4 separate regions of the Homo sapiens genome follow, and regions 1, 2 and 3 are each linked to region 4. Evidence: promoter capture Hi-C in human tissues and cell types (Jung and others, 2019). All regions are on one chromosome and are shown on one strand. The core of a region is centred on a gene start or on the middle of the fragment in contact, and the rest is flanking DNA. Distances in the headings are between cores, read along the strand shown.

Region 1 (4,886 bases), core at 1,597-4,096, 300 kb before region 4:
TTCAGATTTTGGGTTTTTGGAGTAGGGATGCTCAACTGGTAAGTATAATGCAAATCAAAATCTGAAAGACTTCTGGTCATAAGCACTTTGAATAAGGGATACTCAATCTGTATCAAATTCTAGAAAATTTGGCTGGGCGTGGTGGCTCACGCCTGTAATCACAGCACTTTGGGAAGCCGAGATGGGTGGAGGTCCTGAGCTCAGGAGCTCAAGACCAGTCTGGGCAACATAGGAAAACCCTGTATCTACTAAAAATACAAAAAAGTAGCTGGGTGTGGTGGTGCGTGCCCGTAGTCCTAGCTACTCAGGAGGCTGAGGCATGAGAATTGCCTAAACCTGGGAGGCGGAGGTTGCAGTGAACTGAGAGCCCCTGCACTCCAGCCTGGGCGACAGAGCGAGACTGTCTTAAAAAAAAAAAAAAAAAATTTAAATGTGAAAAATGAAAACCAAGATCAGAAAATAGTTAGAAAATTATAAACTGTGGGCGGGTGTTCCAGTGTGCTTACCAGAGCACTCACTCGCCGGTGGGCAGGGAAATGCCGTGGGAGGCAGCAGCACAGATTCTTCTGTCTTTTATCCACAGCAAAAATACCCAACAGTGACAACATCCAGTGCTGATGGGCAGGCAGGAGGACCAGGTCATTGTTTTAACACAGGTGGAAGAAGCATGACTTGCAAATGTTCTGCAGTTAATTGGGCACTATCACTTTGAAACCAAACCTGGTTAGAATGAAAAGCACCAGCATGGAAGTGTACAAGTTTATTCTAGTGTTGCTGGGTTATTGTGGAGAAGATCTGGAAGCAACATAAATGTGCCTCACTTGGGAGAATTTATGGTGTGGTTATCTGGGCATCTAGAACCAGGAGGATAAACTGTTGGCAAGTGAGAGTCACTGGGGGAACGGTCTATAGTAGTATCCTAATTGTGTATCTTTAGTTTATTGTGAGCATGTATGATGTCTGTTAATATTTTCCTCCAGTAGTAGAGAAAACGTGCTAAGGAAAAAAAAAAATGAAGATGGAGAGAGTAGAAACAGCAAGTGAGAAGGCTTTCTGAAACATGTAAATGGAGTGGGAAGGACTCAATGGGCTCTCCCACCCCACCAAAAATATCCTTCTTTTACCTTATGGTTTTTATAATGATCAAAGTGAGATTTGCCTGTACTCCCACCATGAGATGGCCCAGCATATTGATGGAAATCCTTCCAGACAAAATGGCTCTGGCATGCTCTGCAGACAGTACTATATTATACACCTTTCTTATGCCAGTGCAGAGATGAGCCCGATTTGAAGGGCTGCATGATGTTCTTTTGAATGTACGATTTATTTAACCTCTTCTGCACTGAGGAACGTTTAGGTGTTTTCCCATTTTTCACCACTACAATCAGTGTGCACGCATGTTTCCAGTTCTTAAATTTAGGATACGTTCTGGGAAGGGATTAATGAGACAGATTTTTACTTTTCATACATTGTGTCAAACTGCTTTCCAAAAAATACGGAAACAGTTGATCCTCCCACCAGCAGAGAAGACTCTCTTCACCCTTGCATGACTGGGAATAATTCTTCATTCTTGGAATTCTGTGGGTTAAAAAAGACGTTTCATTAAATATCTGTTCCTGTTTTTATATCTTCCCCGTTGGCCCCAAAGTGCTCCTTGCCTATTAGCCTAGTTGGCACCTTGTTACAGGTTGCACCCACCTTTGGCTCTTAGTTTCTTAATTGTTCACTGCTTATAGCTTTTTTGTAAGCAAATCAGATTTCTGTAATACAGCCGTAAAGTTAGAGATATATAGATCTGTATTTTTATTTACCTACAGTAAGTGTGGTGTGGAAGGAGAGGGAATTTGAACAAAGATCAGATAGGTTGTGGTTCCATGCTTGTGGAGTGGCCCTCCGTTGGTGGGGCTGGAAGTGCGTGGGTGCAGGGGCGGGGTGGGGTCCCTCTAAGCTGGCAGGGTCGGGGCAGCAACTTGTAGGGCACTCAGAGCAGCCTCTCCAGCTCCTTCTGCCCTGCCCGCAGCTCATGATGGAGCAGTCCAAGAAGTCCTCCCTCATGGTGGCCCGCAGTATTCTCAACAACAAGCTCATCAGCAAGAAGCTGGAGCGCTACCTGAAGGTGAGGCACTGGTCCGGGCCTGCCCTGTCCCCAGCTTAGTCCCCGCCTGTGCTCCCTCCCTTCAGTGTCCGCGCCCCTCCCCACAGGGCGAGAACCCTTTCACCGACAGCCCCGAGGAGGAGAAGGAGCAGGAGGAGGCTGAGGGCGGTGCCCTGGACGAGGGGGCGCAGGGCGAAGCGGCAGGGATCTCGGAGGGCGCAGAGGGCGTGCCGGCGCAGCCTCCCGTGCCCCCAGAGCCAGCCCCCGGGGCCGTGTCGCCGCCACCGCCGCCGCCCCCAGAGGAGGAGGAGGAGGGCGCCGTGCCCTTGCTGGGAGGGGCGCTGCAACGCCAGATCCGCGGCATCCCGGGCCTCGACGTGGAGGACGACGAGGAGGGCGGCGGGGGCGCCCCGTGACCCGAGCTCGGGGCGGGCGGAGCCCGCGTGGCCGAAGCTGGAAACCAAACCTAATAAAGTTTTCCCATCCCACCTCCGGGTTTCTCTGTTACTGTGCCGCGCGGGCGGGGCGGGGTGGGCAGAGGGGCGGGGTGCGCATGCGCGCGGGCCGGGCCGTCGGGCACCGCGGTGGGACCACAACTCCCATTAGGCCACGGAGCTGGATCGTAGCAGCCCGAAAGGCCAGCTGGGACGGCGAGGGCGGGCCCTCGTGAAGACCAGCCAATGGGGGCGCGCGGAAGTAGTGACGTGTGCGCCTGGTCTTCCAGTAGTCGATGGCGGAGGTGCGCTGAACGCATGCGTGCTGTGGTCGCCTAGTAAACGGGGCTGCTGGTGGGCCGCGTCGAAGACATGGACCAGGGCTACGGAGGTTTGTGTTGGCTGCTGGGTGCGGAGCGGGGAGGGAAGGCTCTGTGCGGGCGACGCAGCCGCTGCGCAGACTGCCGCCGGCCGGGCCTTCGTCCCGAGCGTGGTTGCCCCAGCTGGGCCCTCCGGAGAGGCGGCCAGGGCGCGCGCGCGCCGCTCATTGGGCTTTGGCGCCGTCGCTCCCGGGGCTCTGCGTGCGGATTGGCCGCCAGGCCCCGAGGAGGCGGGCGGGACTCGGGGTTGGGGCAGACGCCGCGGTGGGCTTCGTGGGGGCGTCTTAGACAGTGTGGGCCGTTTTTGCCCCTCACCTTCGGCGGAGTCCTTCCGGCCCCCAGCGACCCCGGGGTTTGCACTCCCGGCTTCCTCTTCCGAAGACGCCACAAAATGGCGGCGCTAGGGGGGCGGAGCTACAGCGTGGGGTTGTGAGGTCGGACCCGGGGAGCTGGGTCTGGGGCCGCGGGCGGACCGCGGGGGCCGCCTCTCTCCCGACCTGCCCTAGGCCCGCGGGGCCGTGTAGGGTCTCCGCTGGGCTCACGTGGCCCAGGGCGCCTGTCCCGGAAGCCGTCGGGCTGCGCGGGGTCGGGCCTTTAGTCCCCGGTGCAGCGCGGTGGGGCCGAGTGCTGCCGGCGCGAGAGTCAGCCTCGCCGGGCTCCAGCTCTGTACCCGGCGCGTGCTGGCTTGGGACAGGATGGTGAGGGGCAGATGCTGAGTGTTCGTATAAAGCTGGAAACCTGATGTGCCCTGGGGCTGGTGACATTGGCAGTTCTCCTTTAGGCAGTCTGTTGTGGTGGCCTGGAGGGGCCGAGGGGCTGTGCAGGAGGGAACGTGTCCTTTCCCCACTAGGATTTAGCGCTTGGCCTGCAGTAGGGCCGATCTTCTCGAGCTGCCTGCTCCCTGCTTCTGGAATCAGAGCCTTTTGGGAGCAAAGTTTGCCCACAGGGGATAGTTGGGACATGCTGGGTGGAGCTCGACTGGTTGTAGAGAAGCTAGTGGTCTGATCCTGGCTGCAGGAGCTCGAGAAGTTGTCGATCTTGAGAAGTGGCAGGGCAAAAGTATCCCAGCACCAGAAATTGCAGAGAGAGGTTTCGGTCCTGAGGCGGCAGCGTGCGCGGTGTGCTTTGGTGTCTTCCGGGTCCTAGCGAAGGCTCAGCCTGGCTCTCCTGGTCTTCCGCAGCCTGGGTAGATTTCACCATTCTTTCCCTTCTTTCCCATCAGATCTTTTCTGCAGGTATTGTATTCCTTCTTTTCATTCTTAGTTTGGAGAGGTTTTTTTTACCCCCTCTTCCTACCTGCCGAAAACCTTTCAGACACACTGGAGATAGTTAAGCTTCCCTGATTTCTTGTGTTTCCGGGAGCGTTTTAAGGTTAATAGTGCGTGCCACTTACACTAGAGCTTCACAGAGAAGCAGTCTCTCGAGGTTGGTTACTTGCTGTTGGAATCTGCAGTCTGCCTTTCTGCTGCACGGATGCGAATTTAGAAGGTTTTGCGGTATGACGGAGGGGAAGGCGTAGCATAGCAGAGGGCAAAACTCAGCAGTATGACTGGGTCAAGTCTCGTAACCCATGAGCCTAGCTCCCTTGTCTCTGAATGGCATTCCGGACAACAGGGTTTGCTGGGTGCTTGCGGTGTATCGGCACGCACTAGGCACTTAGCCGGGGGCGGGGGAGTTGTTCTGGTGAGGGAGACATGGATATGTTCCTGCCTCATCAAAGTGAAGTCATTTAACAGGCATGGTGGCCACCCGCGCGCAGCTCAGTGCTGGGCCCCAGGGACACAGAAATAAAGAGAACACAGTTCCCATTCTCCTTCCTGGAGGGACCAGACAGATGCCATAGTGGGCGGGGGGTGTGGAGGGGTGAAGAGTGCTGTCTGATGCCTTAGGGCCAGGCGAAGGCTCTGGGACTTAAAGGTCCAGGGGATCCGTGGAGGCCTTAAAAGTGGCAGGAAGGGCCTGGCGCGGTGACTCACG
Region 2 (4,878 bases), core at 2,353-4,852, 500 kb before region 4:
GCGCTGGGCAAGGTGGCTCACATCTGTAATCCGAACACAGTGGAAGGCCAAAGCAGGCAGACTGCTTGAGCCCAGGAGTTCACAACGAGCCTGGGCAACATAGTGAGACCTTGTCTCTACTAAAAATACAAAAAATTAGCCGGGTGTGGTGGCATGTGCCTTTACTCCTGGCTACTCGGGAGGCTGAGGTGGGAGGACCCCTTGATCTTGGGAGGTGGAGGTTGCAGTGAGCCATGATCACACCACTGCACTCCAGCTTGGGAACACAGCAAAACCAAGAAAGAAAGCAAGAAAGCAAGAGAGAGAGAGAGAGAGGAAGGAAGGAAGGAAGGAAGGAAGGAGAAAGAGAGAAGGAGGGAGGGAAGAAAGAGAGAAGGAGGGAGGGAAGAAAGAGAGAAGGAGGGAGGGAAGAAAGAGAGAAGGAGGGAGGGAAGAAAGAGAGAAGGAGGGAGGGAAGAAAGAGAGAAGGAGGGAGGGAAGAAAGAGAGAAGGAGGGAGGGAAGAAAGAGAGAAGGAGGGAGGGAAGAAAGAGAGAAGGAGGGAGGGAAGAAAGAGAGAAGGAGGGAGGGAAGAAAGAGAGAAGGAGGGAGGGAAGAAAGAGAGAAGGAGGGAGGGAAGAAAGAAAGAAAGAAGGAAAGAAAGAAAGAAGGAAGGAAAGAAAGAAAGATGGAGGGAAGGAGGGAAAAGGAAAGAAAGGAAAAGAAAAGAAACGAAAAGAAAAGACTGGTACTGCTACAAGAACAGGAAAACGGACCAGAGGAAGAGAGAAGAGAGCTTGCAGTCAGGCACAGGAATAGGTGAAAATTTAACAACTTCTGGTAAAGAGGGGCCCACACACCCCTGGGCAATTGATAGATGATTTGGAGGAAGATGTTCAAACAATTGGAAATTTGGGAACAAAAAAACCAGATCCTTGTCTACTTCATATACAGGATGGAATCTCTTCCTATATGAGATGAATAAAGCTATAAAGTTAAGAGAAGATAACAGAAGAAACACTTTTGTGACTTAAGGGTGGGAATTCTTAAAACCTCGAAAGGACAAAGTAGAAGATCAAAAAGAAAAAGGATAAATATGCATGAAAATTAAGGAATTATGTGTAACACAGGATACCATGGACCAAATGAACATTCAGATGAGAGATTCAAAGGTTTCTACAATATCTAGAATACAAGGAATTCCTGCAAAATAACAAGAGAAAGAACAGGTGACCCAAGAGAAAAGTAGAAAAGAATATGATCTAAGAAATCATGGATGCCCTGAGGTCTATAAGAGATTTAACCCATTTATGCCTGAGGTTTCAATTTTTTGAATTTTGAAAATCAGACCTTGGCAATGACCTGGAGCAGTAGAATATGAATAACTCCCACATGCTTAGCATTCCAATAATGGAACACTAGGCATAAGTGGGACAATAAGAAGAGGTGCTCAGGTCAGGTGCAGTGGCTCACACCTGTAATTCCAGCACTTTGGGAGGCCGAGGCAGGCAGATCACCTGAGATCAGGAGATCGAGACCAGCCTGGCCAACATGGTGAAACCCTGTCTCTACTAAAAATACAAAAAAATTAGCCGGGCGTGGTGGTGGGCACCTGTAATCCCAACTACTCAGGAGGCTGAGGCAGGAGAATAGTTTGAACTCAGGAGGCAGAGGTTGCAGTGAGCCGAACTCAGGAGGCAGAGATTGCACCACTGCACTTCAGCCTGGGTGACAGAGCGAGGTTCCATCTCAAAAAAAAAAAAAAAAGAAAAGAAAAGAAAAAAAGAAAAACTTGTAAAAGCAAAGTAATAAAATAGGATCACCTTTATCAAATATGAAAGTGTTATTTAAAGTATAATGATGAAGACATCTTGATGCTTATGTATGACTATATAATTAACTGGGCCAGGCGTGGTGGCTCACGCCTGGAACCCCAGCATTTTGGGAAGCCGAGTTGGGCGGATCACTTGAGATCAGAAATTTGAGACCAGCCTGGCCAACATGGTGAAACCCTGTCTCTACTAAAAATACAAAAATTAGCCGGGTGTGGTGATGTGCACCTCTAGTCCCAGTTAGTCGGGAGGCTGAGGCAGGAGAATCGCTTGAACCCAGGAGATGGAAGTTACAATGAGCTAAGATCACACCACTGCACTCCAGCCTGGGCGACAGAGCAAGATTCTGTCTCAAAAAAAAAAAATAAAATAAATAAATAAATAAATAAATAAATAAAATTAAGTGGAACAGAATAAAGCCCAAGAAACAGACCCAAATATATAAATAAATTTCACTTATTGTGAATCTGCTGTTATTTAAAATCGTAAGACAAATACAAAATATTCATTAAATTCTGTTGGGGCAACTAGCCATTTGGAGGAAAATGAATACATTCCTACAACAATTCTTATACTATCATAGACTTCATAGAGAAAAAAGTAATAAATATTTTTAAACTAAAATAATAAATAAAATATTTTAAAAACAAATAAACCCATCAGAGGAAAACAAACATGAGTTTTACATTTTAATTTTAGAGCATGAAAGAATGTCCCATGCATGATTTAAAAAAACAAAAACATGGCCAGGCGCAGTGGCTCACGCCTGTAATCCCAGCACTCTGGGAGGCCAAGGTAGGTGGATCACCTGAGGCCTGGCCAACATGGTGAAACCCCATCTCTACTAAAAATACAAAAATTAGCTGGGCATAGTGGTGGACACTTGTAATCCCAGCTACTTGAGAGGCTGAGGAGGAGAATCACTTGAACTCGGGAGGCGGAGGTTGCAGTGAGCTGAGATGGTGCCACTGCTGTCCAGCCTGGGTGACAGAGCAAGACTCTGTCTCAAAAAAAAAATAATAAAAATAATAAAAAAAACAAAAAACGGCACGTATAAAGGAAAGAATTTGACTGCAAATAAATTAATCAAGCCAAAATAAATGAATGAAAACCAACAATTAATTCAAAGACAATCTGAAAAAGAACTTTGCAAAACAGAAAAAAAGAACTAGTTTTCTTAATCTGTGAGCAGTGCTTATAAATCAATAAGAAAAAAACTACAAAACCCAAACTAGAAGGAACAAATTGTGCAAACACTTCACAGAATAAGAAATACCCATGGTCAGTAAGTGAAAACAATGCTCAACTTTACCCAGGCTTAAAGTGATGTTCATTGAAGTATTATGTTGCATCTATCAGATTGGCAAATGTTTTAAAGTTTCATAATAGACACTTTAGGGGAGAATGTGAGGAAGGCATTCTCAAAATGTGTGTGTAGGAGCTATTGAATTGTCAATCTCAAATGGTCTTCAGTTCACCAACTGCACTTCTCAGAATTGGTACTGCAAAGCTGCTCACAGATGTAAGCAATGGTCAGTGTACATGGGTGCCCACTACATCATGTTAGTTATAGCAAAAGCCTGGAAAGCACACAAATATCCATCAATGGAGAAATGTTTTGATGAATTACAGTACATCCTTATGAGAGAACACTATGCAGCTATCAAAAAGGAGGAAACAAAGAGAACTAGTTCTACAACACACTGGAGAGTTAATCAGTGCAGAGACTCTAAAAGGCAATTCGGCAATATCTATTAGAACTGAATAGGTTTGGCCAGGCGCTGTGGCTCACACCTGTAATCCCAGCACTTTGGTAGGCTGAGGTAGGCGAATCCCCTGAGGTCTGGAGTTCGAGACCAGCCTGGCCAACATGGTGAAACCCCGTCTCTATTAAAAATACAAAAATTAGCTGGGCATAGTGGCGGATGCCTGCAATCACAGGTCCTCAGGAAGCTGAGGCAGGAGAATCACCTGAACTCAGGAGGCAGAGGTTGCAGTGAGCAGAGATTATGCCACTGCACTCCAGCCTGGATGACACAGTGAGACTGTCTCAAAAAAAAAAAAAAAGAAAAGAAAAAAGAAAGAAGTAACAAAAAAGAAAAAATAATTGAATGAGTTTAATTGCAATAGATAGTAAAGGCAAAAATCCTGCAACATTTCCTTTGCTCCAGGCTGAGTACCAGGCCCTGTTTCTGAGCTCTGCACCAATTCCCACTAGGCAGTAATAGCACAATCACCAATAAGACCTTCTCCCTTTCCCACCTGAAGAGCTAAACCAATGAGAGGGACTCAGGAACAGGTCATGAGGACCTGCACACTCACCATTCAATCTCTTTAGGATCACCGTTCTTCAGGAGCTCTTGCACCTCCTGTCGGCAGTGCTCCTGGTATTCTGGGTACCTCGCGAGGTTGTACAGGACCCAGGAGAGACCACTGGCCGAGGTGTCATGGCCTGAGGGGCAGCCAGGTAAGCTTGGGTCTCTGGGCTGCTTCAGCACCCAAGGGTGGACAGCACCCATGTATTGAGGCCCTCAGAAGGAAGTGGGGAAGGAAGATGGGATGGGGTGATCCAGGGTCCACTCACCACATCCCTGGAATGGAGACACTCCTACCCCTAGTGACATCACACCCTGGGACCCTCACCCCCAGACATGAAGGTGTCAGCCTCCGCTCTTATGTTCTCATCTGACAACTTCTTTCCATTTTCATCCTGGAGACAAGACAAGACCTCTAAATTACACCAGCCATGAAGGCACCTGAGTCTAACCTAAAACAGTTCATGAAGATCCATATTCCAGGCAAGATTCCTCCCTTATCATCATTAGACCTGCCTAGCAGGACTCTTTCCCAGTCTCTTGCCTCCTGTTTGCTCCTTCTAGGAACTCTTCTACAGAGTCACCTCTAAAATATATCTTACTTGTCCCTCCTTTCCTCAAGCACCTTCCATGGCTCCCCAGTGCCCTCTGGATCAAGTCCAAGTTCATGGATCTGACATTTCACGTCAAAGTCCATTCTACTTCTGAAATTCAGATCCCAGAGTAGCCCACCTTGGCCAGCAAGAGCACGTC
Region 3 (4,638 bases), core at 1,101-3,600, 340 kb before region 4:
ACAAGGGTGGTCTTGGCCCACACGTCTGCTCCTGTGGGGTCAGGACGCACATCTCGCCTGGTGGCAGAAGGCCGCAACCACTTCTCTCCATCCTGTGCTGTGGGTGGGTGGATGTATCCAGGACTTAGGAAGCAGGGAGAGCATCTTGTGAGCTGACTCAAAGGTGTTTCTTCCTCTTTCAACTTTTCATAAGTCAGTTTTTATTTTTTTATTTTATTTTTTGAGACAGGGTCTCATTTTGTTGCCCAAGCTGGAGTGCAGTGTAGGGACCTCGGCTCGCTGCAGTCTCTGCCTCCTGGGTTCAAGTGATTCTCCTGCCTCAGCCATCCAGGTAGCTGGGATCACAGGCATGCACCACCACCCCTGGCTTATATCTGTAATTTTTGTAGAGACGGGGGTTTCACCATGTTGCCCGGGCTGGTCTTGAACTCCTGAGCTCAAGTGATCAGCCTCCCAAAGTGCTGGGATTACAGGCGTGAGCCACTATGCCCGGCCCGTAAGTCAGTTTTTGAAATATAAAAGTGGTATAGGCTAGATGTGACAAAAAACAGTCAAATGATACAAGAGCTTATAAAGTCATATGGCAAGTTCCTCCCCACCAATCATGCAGTGAAGTGAGGGTCATGTGTGTCCTTGGAAGAGTCACCTCCAGTTCTTGCAGGGGGATGTTTTCCTAAAACTTTCTGAGCATTGCTCTTCTCTGCTCAAGCCACTTCAATACACCTCAGGCAGCAAAGTCTCAGCTTTTGAGCCGTGGTCTCTGAGGGTGTTGGATGTGAACGAAATCAAATCGGTACAATGATGACTGTGGCAAGTGCGATGAAGGAACGAACCTGCAGGGCGCAGAAGACGTGTCCTGGGGCCCTGCCTTGGTTTGGAAGACAGGCAGGCATCCCTGAGGCTGATGGGGAGATGAACCCCGAAGCCAGAGTGCTTATCCGTCAGATCTCTGCTTCATGTTTGGAGTTTGCTCACTTAACACATCAGAAGTGGCTTTGTTCCGTATGGCAGCAAGTTCTGCAGAAGCCTCATTTGGGTGGGGGGAGTTTTATTAAAACAGTTTATCATGGAGAATTCCAACTATACAAAAGTAGAGCAAACAGTAAAATGGACTCTCATCTATCCATCACCAACCCATGACCAATGTCTTCAGCTGTCAGAGATTTATCTTATAGCTCCTTGCTTCCTCCTCCTCTCTCTACCTGTCTGAATTGTGTGAAGCACATCCTGGCCATAAGATCAGTTAACTTCTTAGTATTTCAGTATGTTTCTCTCAACGTTGTAAATGCCACTATTACACCTAAAGAAATCAACAATATCAAAAAGAAACAGCATACCTTAAAAAAAGTTTTAAAACACACGAAGCGTAGAAGTCGTAATTGCGCAGCTTAATGAGTTTTCACAAACACACGTGTTAAGTACTCTTCGGTGCAGCTCTGTCATCTCTAGAAATTATGAGTTGTCCCTGGCAGGGTTTCCATATGCCCAGGAAACAGACTGAGGACATGACTGGTGCCCGGCTGCACTATTGCAGGATCTCTCGAGCCCAGAGTGAATCAGGAGGGTTTTAGAAGCAAAGCTCCCATTTTAACACGTAACTGTCAAGGACCTTGAGCAAATCATGAGTTCCAAGCTTCAGTTTTAAGTGAGGATTAAAAGCTTTTTGCAGGTTTGAAGGAGCATTCGAATGACACACAATACAAACGGAATTATTACACATATAAGCATATGCCATATAAATATATTATCGTTTTGTTACGATTAATCACATTTATTCAGTGCACTGGCACCAGAATGATTTCTTTACACACACTTTGTCACGTAATGTTGAAACGTGTGTCCAGCATCTTGTTTGGTGCTGTTTTAATTTTCTCTTCTCAACATGGCTTTGCTATGCTTGTTTTGGAGCCGAAGGCCAGAGAATTTGAGAGACTTAGCTAGGTCCCCTACCCAGCACCTCGGTGGCGGAGTTGGCATCCCAGCCCTGCCCTGAGCCGTAGACCCGACTCCCTCTGGCGGGTCTCCAGGGTACGGGCGCTCCTCCAGCCCGACCATGCTTGGGCCTTGGGCCTTTCCGTAGTGCACAGCTCCGCCCCCTCAAATTCTATAGGACTCCGCCTCTCTGCCGGCTTCTGTAGGCCAATCACTGAGGCCTTAGAATAACAGAAGGCGGGGACAAGGCGGGGCTCTCACGAGATTGCCAGCAGCTTCCAGCCACTGATATGAGGAGGCATAGAGATAGACAGCGGTTCCTTCCAATAGACGTGAAGCCGAGGCCGGTATGAGCCAATGCGGTCGGGAGGCGGGGCTCGGGTGTGTGTGGAGGGGACCCTGTGGTTAGCAGCAGCTATCGCAGCGTCGGATGTTCAGAGCAGCAGAAGCCGGCGTCGTCGGATGTTGTGTTGCCCGCCACCATGAGCTACACAGGTGGGCCTGGCAGGGTGGGGTCGGGCTCTGCGTGGGGGATGGGACAGGGACGTGCGGATGCCGCACCAGGCTTGCCCGCACCTCCCCTGGGGCCCCGTCACTGCCTTCCCTGCGGTCACAAAATGGCGCCGCTGGCCCGTCGCCTCAGGGTCGCTGCCCTCACGCCTCGTTGCCTCAGCTCTCTGTGTCTGCAGCCGGCGTCCCGGCTCCCGGCCGCCTGATGTCTTGGCTTCTGTCGCCTGTGTCCGTGGGTCCGGGCCTCAGCGCACGAGGTCTCCGCCCCCACCACCTCCGTCCCTGGCCTGCGCTCCTGGACCTCGACGCCTTAGGTTTCCCTTTCTCAGGCCTTGGTCCTTGCGAGCAGGCAGCAGGCTCGGCTGCCGTCGCCATTGTCGCGTCCTCCCCCGCGCAGTTTCTCTGCAAAAACGCCGCAGCTCTACACCCCCATCCCGATCCCACCCACCACCCCCTTTTGTCTATTTCAGAACTGGGAAAGGCGCCAGGCCCTAGGGGGATAAGTAAATATTGGAAGGGTTTGGGCTGAGCGGGGAGCCTTGGGCCCCTAGGGGCTGAACTGCAAGGAATGACAAGGTTCCATGTTAATTCCCTCTGCGTCTGTCAAATGAACCGTGTCCGGTACAGACTGGGTATTGGGAATACAGACAAGAATTCCTCAAGCAGCTTAGAGGCGAGGATCTTAATAGGCAAATAAGCGAGTGTAGGATATATTTTAGGGTGGTCAGTACCGTGCGGGGGTCGCTCCACTACGTGGAGTGGTTGGAGCCTTCTGTAAAGAGGTGACATTTGAGCAGAGACCTAAATGGAGGGAGCGAATAAAGATATCTGGCCCAGGGAGCTTTTGCTGTAAAAGGCTTACGGGCAGGAACTGCCTGGCTTGTTAGAAGATCAGCCAGGGAGGCCAGTGGGAGGCCAATGGGATTTGAAAGGGAGAGTGGGTGACAGATCCGAGAGCCCCTCTCCGCCCCCCGCAATATGCTTGGGCGACTGTAAATCATCACTGGGTGAATTGCCAAGGCCTCCTGGGTTTGCCTTGGCAGTGACTGATGAGGCTTCTCGGCCAGGAGACTTACACTAGGCCTCCCTGTTTGGTGAGGGTATTATAGGCTTGAGCGTGTGTGGTTGCCAGGTAACCTGCATTCTACTTGGAATTTTGAGAACTGAGAATGCAACGTGAGTCTGTGGGGCTCCTTTGTAGACCACTTTATGTTGGCATAGGCAAGAAGGTAGTGCCAGTCCCCTCTACCCTGGCTGCCAGGTCAGGAGCTTTCCAAGAACCCCAGTTTTTCTAGCAACCATCCCCCAGCCCAGTGGGTTCTCATCCAGGGGTGATTCTGCCCCAGATGACATCTGGCAATGTCTGGAGACATTTTTGGTTGTCACATATGGGAGTGGGAGTGCTGCTGGTATCTAGTGGATGGAGGTTTGGGATGCTGCCCTGCTACGGTATACACAATGACACCTACCGCAAAGAAGTATCTGGCGTCAAACATCAGTAGTGCCCAAGTTGGGCAGCTCTGCCAGAGCCTTTCTGTAGCTTTCCTAGTTCAGGAGGAAAGACTATGGGGTTGTTACTGACATCCCTGGGATTGGAATATAATTCTCACCAAGTCTTACCAAGAACTGGAAGACAGTTTCATGGTTTTTAAAAACAGGACTCTTGAAGAAACCAGAAGATGAATGGTTGGGTGCTGTGGGGTAGCTGAGTAATGGAGCTCTTTTTTTTAATAGATGAGGAAACTGAGATACAAGGTCACTAATGACCAAACCTGAATTCCAGCTCTAGGTCTTGTAGGCTGTAGTTCTGGGTTTGGGTGGGCACTGAGATAGCCAAGCTAAAAAAGTAATGATTAGTTTTTCCTTTATCTTGATAAACTGAAAACCACAGTAATTTACAATGTGAGTCTTCCCCTTATTTAAGAAGTAGGGCACTAAAGTCAAAGGCATTTTAATTCACATTTCAGACAACTAATAGCTTTAAGGGTAAGTCCTAGAGGCCTCGAAGCAAATGTTAGCATTATTAAACATAAAAGGTGACTGATAAATCTTTTTATTAACTCGCCCTGCTTTTGAACCCTGTTACCTTATTTATACGTGGGAAAGGAAGCTGCATCTCTAGCACTGAGAGGGGAAGAGGAGAGCAGTGGTAAACAGCACAGAAATATCCAGAATCAGGCCCTCAAACAAAGGTCT
Region 4 (4,801 bases), core at 1,340-3,839:
AGTTTCTTTCTTTTTTTTTCCCCCAGCTATTGGCTGCTCAGCATGATTTTTATTTTATTTAATTTTATCATTTTATTTTAAGTTCCAGGATACACGTGCAGGACGTGCAGGTTTGTTACATAGGTAAACGTGTGCCATAGTGGTTTGCTGCACCTATCAAGCCATCACCTCGGTATTAAGCCCAGCATGCATTAGCTATTTATCCTGATGAGGAGCCGGTTTCTTTCTTTCTTTTCTTTTTTGAGATGGAGTCTTACTCTGTCACCCAAGCTGGAGTGCAGTGGCGCGATCTTGGCTCACTGCAACCCCCGCCTCCTGGGTTCAAAAGATTCTCCTGCCTCAGCCTCCTGAGTAGCTGGGATGACAGGCGAGCACCACCACGCATGGCTAATTTTTGTATTTTTAGTAGAGATGGGGTTTCACCATGTTTGTCAGACTGGTCTTGAACTCCTGACCTCATCATCTGCCCGGCTTGATCTCTCAAAGTGCTGGGATTACAGGCGTGAGCCACTGCAGCCAGCCAGGAGCCAGTTTCTTAATGCATAGGTCTTACAATAACTCCCACAGGGAGATTGTGTTAGCTACAATTTACAGTGAGCAGACTGGGGCTGAGCGAGCTGCCAGGGGCACTCAGCTTGCAAGTGCCTGATCTCGCCTTTGAATTTAGACTTATTTTCACTCTCATACTCCACTGCCTCCCTAAGAATGGCCACTCTCACCTCTTTATGAGGCATTTCGAAGCTAAATTCTGTGCTGTCAACACGTGCAAGGGAAAAATATTCAATTACAAGCATTTACACGTGTTTCTTTTCGAGACAGAGTCTCACTCTGTCACCTAGGCTAGAGTACAGTGGCACGATCTCGGCTCACTGCAACATCCGTCTCCTGGGTTCAAGTGATTCTTGTGCCTCAGCCACCCGAATAGCTGGGATTACAGGTGTGCATCACCACGCCCGATTAATTTTTGTATTTTTAGTAGAGACGGGGTTTCGCCTCTACTAAGCCTGTTGGCCAGGCTGGTCTTGAACTCCTGACCCGGTGATCCGCCCACCTTGGCCTCCCAAAGTACTGAGATTACAGGCGTGAGCCCAGTAATCTCATCATTTCAGCGCCCAGCCGATGAAAGGGGTTTTTAGGAAGGTTAGCAGCATAATCTCCTTGGTAACCCCAAGAGGCCTTCAGCAAAGCCCTATGTTAACTTTTTGAGGCTTTTTAGTGTTGGACTTGAGGTTTTTGCAATGCAATGCTTGGTTTTCTCTAGGCTGGATAGAATACTGCGATTCCCTTCCTGGCAACATATTTGTAACAGTCCTCAGTTGTTGACTTGGGTTGCATAGAGCAGCGGTTCTCAACCTTGAGCACGCTTCAGGGTCACCTGGAAGGCTTGTTAAAACACAAAAAGCGGGCCAGGCATGGTGGCTCACACCTGTAATCCCAGCACTTTGGGAGGCTGAAGTGGGAGAATTGCTTGAGGCCAGGAGTTCAAGACCAGCCTGGCAGACAAAGTGAGGCCACCCCACCCCCAATCCCGCCCTGGATCTACAAAAAATAAAACAATCTGCTGGGCATGGTGGCATGCTTCCATAGTCCCAGCTACTCAGAAGGCTGAGGTGGGAGAATCCCTTGAGTCCAGGAGTTAGAGACCAACCTGGGCAACACAGTGAGACCCCCATCTCTACAAAATAAAAAATTAGCTGGACATGGTGGCACACACCTGTTAGTCCCAGCTGCTTGGGGGGCCAAGGTAGGAGGATCTCTTGAGCCCGGGAGTGTGAGACCATCCTGGGCAACATAGGAAGATCCCTGCCTCTACGAAAATAAAATTAGCCAGGCATGGTGGTATATGTCTGTTATCCCAGGTACCCGGGAGGCTGAGGAGGGAGGATCACTTGAGCTTGGGAGGTCGAGGCTGCGATGAGCTATGATAATGCCACTGCACTCCAGACTGGGCAACAGAGCGAGACCCTGTCTCAAAAACAGAAAGAACAAACAAACAAACAAAACAATCCCCCCGCCCCCTCCCCCCCGCTCCCAAACTCATCATACACAAAAAGCTAAGCCCTTTCCCTGAAATGTCTGGTGTAAGAACCAGCACTTCTAGATAGTTTCCAGAGGATGCTGGTGCTTCTAGCCCAGGGACCACACTTGGGGAGCTGCTGCATTGGAGAAACTTGTTTCTCAAGACCTCTCCTATCTGTGCAGGTGTCCTGCAGCTGCAGACCCTCAGTGCTTTTCCTCCACATATCCTGCCACAGAGGGTCTGCCGTCTGCGTGCTTTGTCCACTCAGAGAGTCTAGACTTGGTCTCAGTCTCTTCTCTCTCTCTCGGCCTCTAGGAAGGAGACAGATTCCTCTCCCACAACCCTCCACCCCCACCCTCAGCTCAATCCTTTCCCCATCCCTCACCTGCTCACCAGGATGGCATCACCAAGGGGAGGGTCCCGGGAAGCCTCCTTCTCCACCAACTGCTAGAGGATCCCGAGGTCAGCACTAAACCCCTAGGAAGGGCATGGGGGCTACTCACCTGTGATCGCTGGGGTTAGCCTGATGTCTATGGGAAGGATTCATATGTGTACCCCCCCGCCCCCAGACTCTGCAGGTGAGTGGGGGAGCCAGGGGAACATCAGGGTATTTATAGTCTGGGGACTCTAGGAGACTTCGTCCCCATAGCTCCTTGTTAAGGAAGCGGATGCTAATTATTTTGTTTCTCCTCTGCCACATGTGACCTGTTCTTTTGGAGATGGGTGTGCTTTGGGATCATCGAGTGGGTAAGAAGAGGAAACAGTGACTAGGGATTCACTCTCACTAGGACATCTCCCTACGGTCTCCTTCCAGCTCAGGCTGAGCTTCATGGAAGCTCCCAGGCAGAGAGGTCTGGGGGGTCCCAGACTCCAGTCGGGCACTCAGATGCCTGAATCTGAGAGGTCCTTTCATTCATTGCATTATGGAAGAAACTGGCTCATTAAGGAAAGCTCCGAAGAGTATCAATCAATCAATAAATCGGTATTAAATAAATAAATTTATCAAACACTTTTTTTTGAGATGGAGTGTCACTCTTTCACCCAGCCTGGAGCACAGTGGAGCAATCTCGGCTCACTGCAACCTCCACCTCCTGGGTTCTAGCAATTCTCCCTCCTCAGCCTCTTGAGTAGCTGGAATTACTGGTGCCCACCACCATGCCCAGCTAGTCTTTGTATTTTTAGTAGAGACAGGGTTTCACCATGTTGGAAAGACTGATCTCAAACCTCAAGTGATCTGCTCTCCTCGGTCTCCCAAAGTGCTGGGATTACAGGCCTGAGCCACTGTACCCGGCCTATCAAACACTTCTTGATCACCTGCTTGGCACTGGAGTTGGACACGGTGGCTCATGCCTATAATCCTAGCTACTTGGGAGGCCAAGGTTGGAGAATCCCTTGAGCCTAGAAGTTTGAGACCAGCTTGGGCAAAACAGCAAGACCTTATATCTACAAAAAATTTAAAAAAATTAGCCAGGATTGGTGGCACATGCCCGTGGTCTCAGTTACCCAGGAGGCTGAGGTGGGAGGATCACTTGAGCCCTGGAGGTTGAGGCTGCAGTGAGCTGTGATCGCACCACTGCATTCCAACCTGGACAACGGAGTGAGACCCTGTCTCTTAAAAAAAAAATCCTTCCTATCAGCCACACAGAACGTGTGTAGGATACTTGTTGAAATTCTCCTAGGGGCTTTAGTAAATATTAGAATTACTTTCCCTAATAATATTGGCTGTTGGACTGTTGGCTCTTGGATCGTAACTCTGTGGGGAGGTCAGCTTCAAAGCAAGAACAAGGTAGACCAACTTCGCGTTGGACATATGGGGATATGAGTAGGTGCCAATCCCACTGTCATTATTTTTTTAAAATTAAAATTATTTTCAGAGGCTGGGCATGGTGGTTCACACCTGTAATCCTAGCACTTTGGGAGGCCGAGGCAGGTGGATCAATTTAGCTCAGGAGTTTGAGACCAGCCCGGCCAACATGGTGAAACCCTGTCTCTACTAAAAATACAAAATTAGCTGGACGTGCCTATAGTCCCAACTACTCAGGAGGCTGAGGTGGGAGGATCCCTTGAGCCCGGGAGGTGAAGTTTGCAGCAAGTTGAGATCATGCCACTGCACTCCAGCCTGGGTGACAGAGTGAGACCTTGTCTCAAAAAAAAAAAAAAAATCAATTTGAGCCCAAAGGTTGGGGAAAAACCCACCTAAAAAGTCCATAAGGTGGCCAGACATGGTGGCTCACACCTGTAATCCCAGCACTTTGGGAGGCTGAGGCGGGTGGATCACTTGAGGTCGGGAGTTCGAGACCAGCCTGGGAAAAATGGTGAAACCCAGTCTCTACTAAAAGTACAAAAATTAGCTGGGCATGGTGGGTGGGCATCTGTAATCCTAGCTACTTGGGAGGCTGAGGCAGGAGAATCACTTGAACCTGGGAGGCGAAGATTGCAGTGAGCCGAGATTGTGCCACTGCACTCCAGCCTGGGTGACAGAGCAAGACTCCATCTCAAAAAAAAAAAAAAAAAAAAGTCCCACTGGGTGAACAAACTTTTGCCACTGTCCGTGGTTCTGAAAAAAAATTATTTTGCCCAAAGCCATGGTAGGTAGGACATTGGTGTCTCCCATCCGAACTCTCCTGGGAATTCTGAAACCAGTTATAGAAGGAAGAGTGAAGAGAGATAAGGAGGAATAAAAGATATATTCAGGAAGAAAAAAGCCTTTCTTTTTGATATGACTCTATAGAAAATGTTATCAAAAATAACATTTCCCCCCCTGGGAAATTGGTATAAGGC

Evidence for each region. Contacts are between HindIII fragments. The study calls those that stand out against the background at their distance.
Region 1: the fragment with the promoter of AKAP8 here is called in contact with the fragment with the promoter of OR1I1 in region 4 in 5 of the 25 tissues and cell types used here (IMR-90 fibroblasts, aorta, bladder and 2 more).
Region 2: a contact is called between a fragment that was not itself captured here and the fragment with the promoter of OR1I1 in region 4, in 1 of the 25 tissues and cell types used here (lymphoblastoid cells).
Region 3: the fragment with the promoter of AKAP8L here is called in contact with the fragment with the promoter of OR1I1 in region 4 in 2 of the 25 tissues and cell types used here (IMR-90 fibroblasts and spleen).

The regions. Positions count from the first base shown.
Region 1 is chr19:15,377,747-15,382,632 of GRCh38, reverse strand. AKAP8 (A-kinase anchoring protein 8) reads left to right here and starts at 2,846. Exons shown (of 14, transcript NM_005858.4): 1 at 2,846-2,920. The coding sequence starts at 2,902. It overlaps AKAP8L (A-kinase anchoring protein 8 like), which reads left to right. Exons shown (of 14, transcript NM_014371.4): 13 at 2,021-2,116; 14 at 2,203-2,583. The coding sequence ends at 2,511. RefSeq lists silencers at 2,221-2,710, 3,051-3,600 and enhancers at 1,875-2,789, 2,561-2,855, 2,790-3,705. The HindIII fragment of the contact is 19,214 bases long and covers 1-4,886 here.
Region 2 is chr19:15,576,815-15,581,692 of GRCh38, reverse strand. It overlaps the pseudogene CYP4F23P. Among named protein-coding and RNA genes, the nearest start is that of CYP4F8, 36 kb to the left of the region's middle. The HindIII fragment of the contact is 3,197 bases long and covers 2,004-4,878 here.
Region 3 is chr19:15,416,700-15,421,337 of GRCh38, reverse strand. It overlaps AKAP8L (A-kinase anchoring protein 8 like), which reads left to right and starts at 2,350. Exons shown (of 14, transcript NM_014371.4): 1 at 2,350-2,427. The coding sequence starts at 2,415. WIZ (WIZ zinc finger) reads left to right here. Exons shown (of 13, transcript NM_001371589.1): 13 at 1-1,360. The HindIII fragment of the contact is 22,741 bases long and covers 1-4,638 here.
Region 4 is chr19:15,079,999-15,084,799 of GRCh38, reverse strand. OR1I1 (olfactory receptor family 1 subfamily I member 1) reads right to left here and starts at 2,589. Exons shown (of 2, transcript NM_001004713.2): 1 at 2,524-2,589. The HindIII fragment of the contact is 16,029 bases long and covers 1-4,580 here.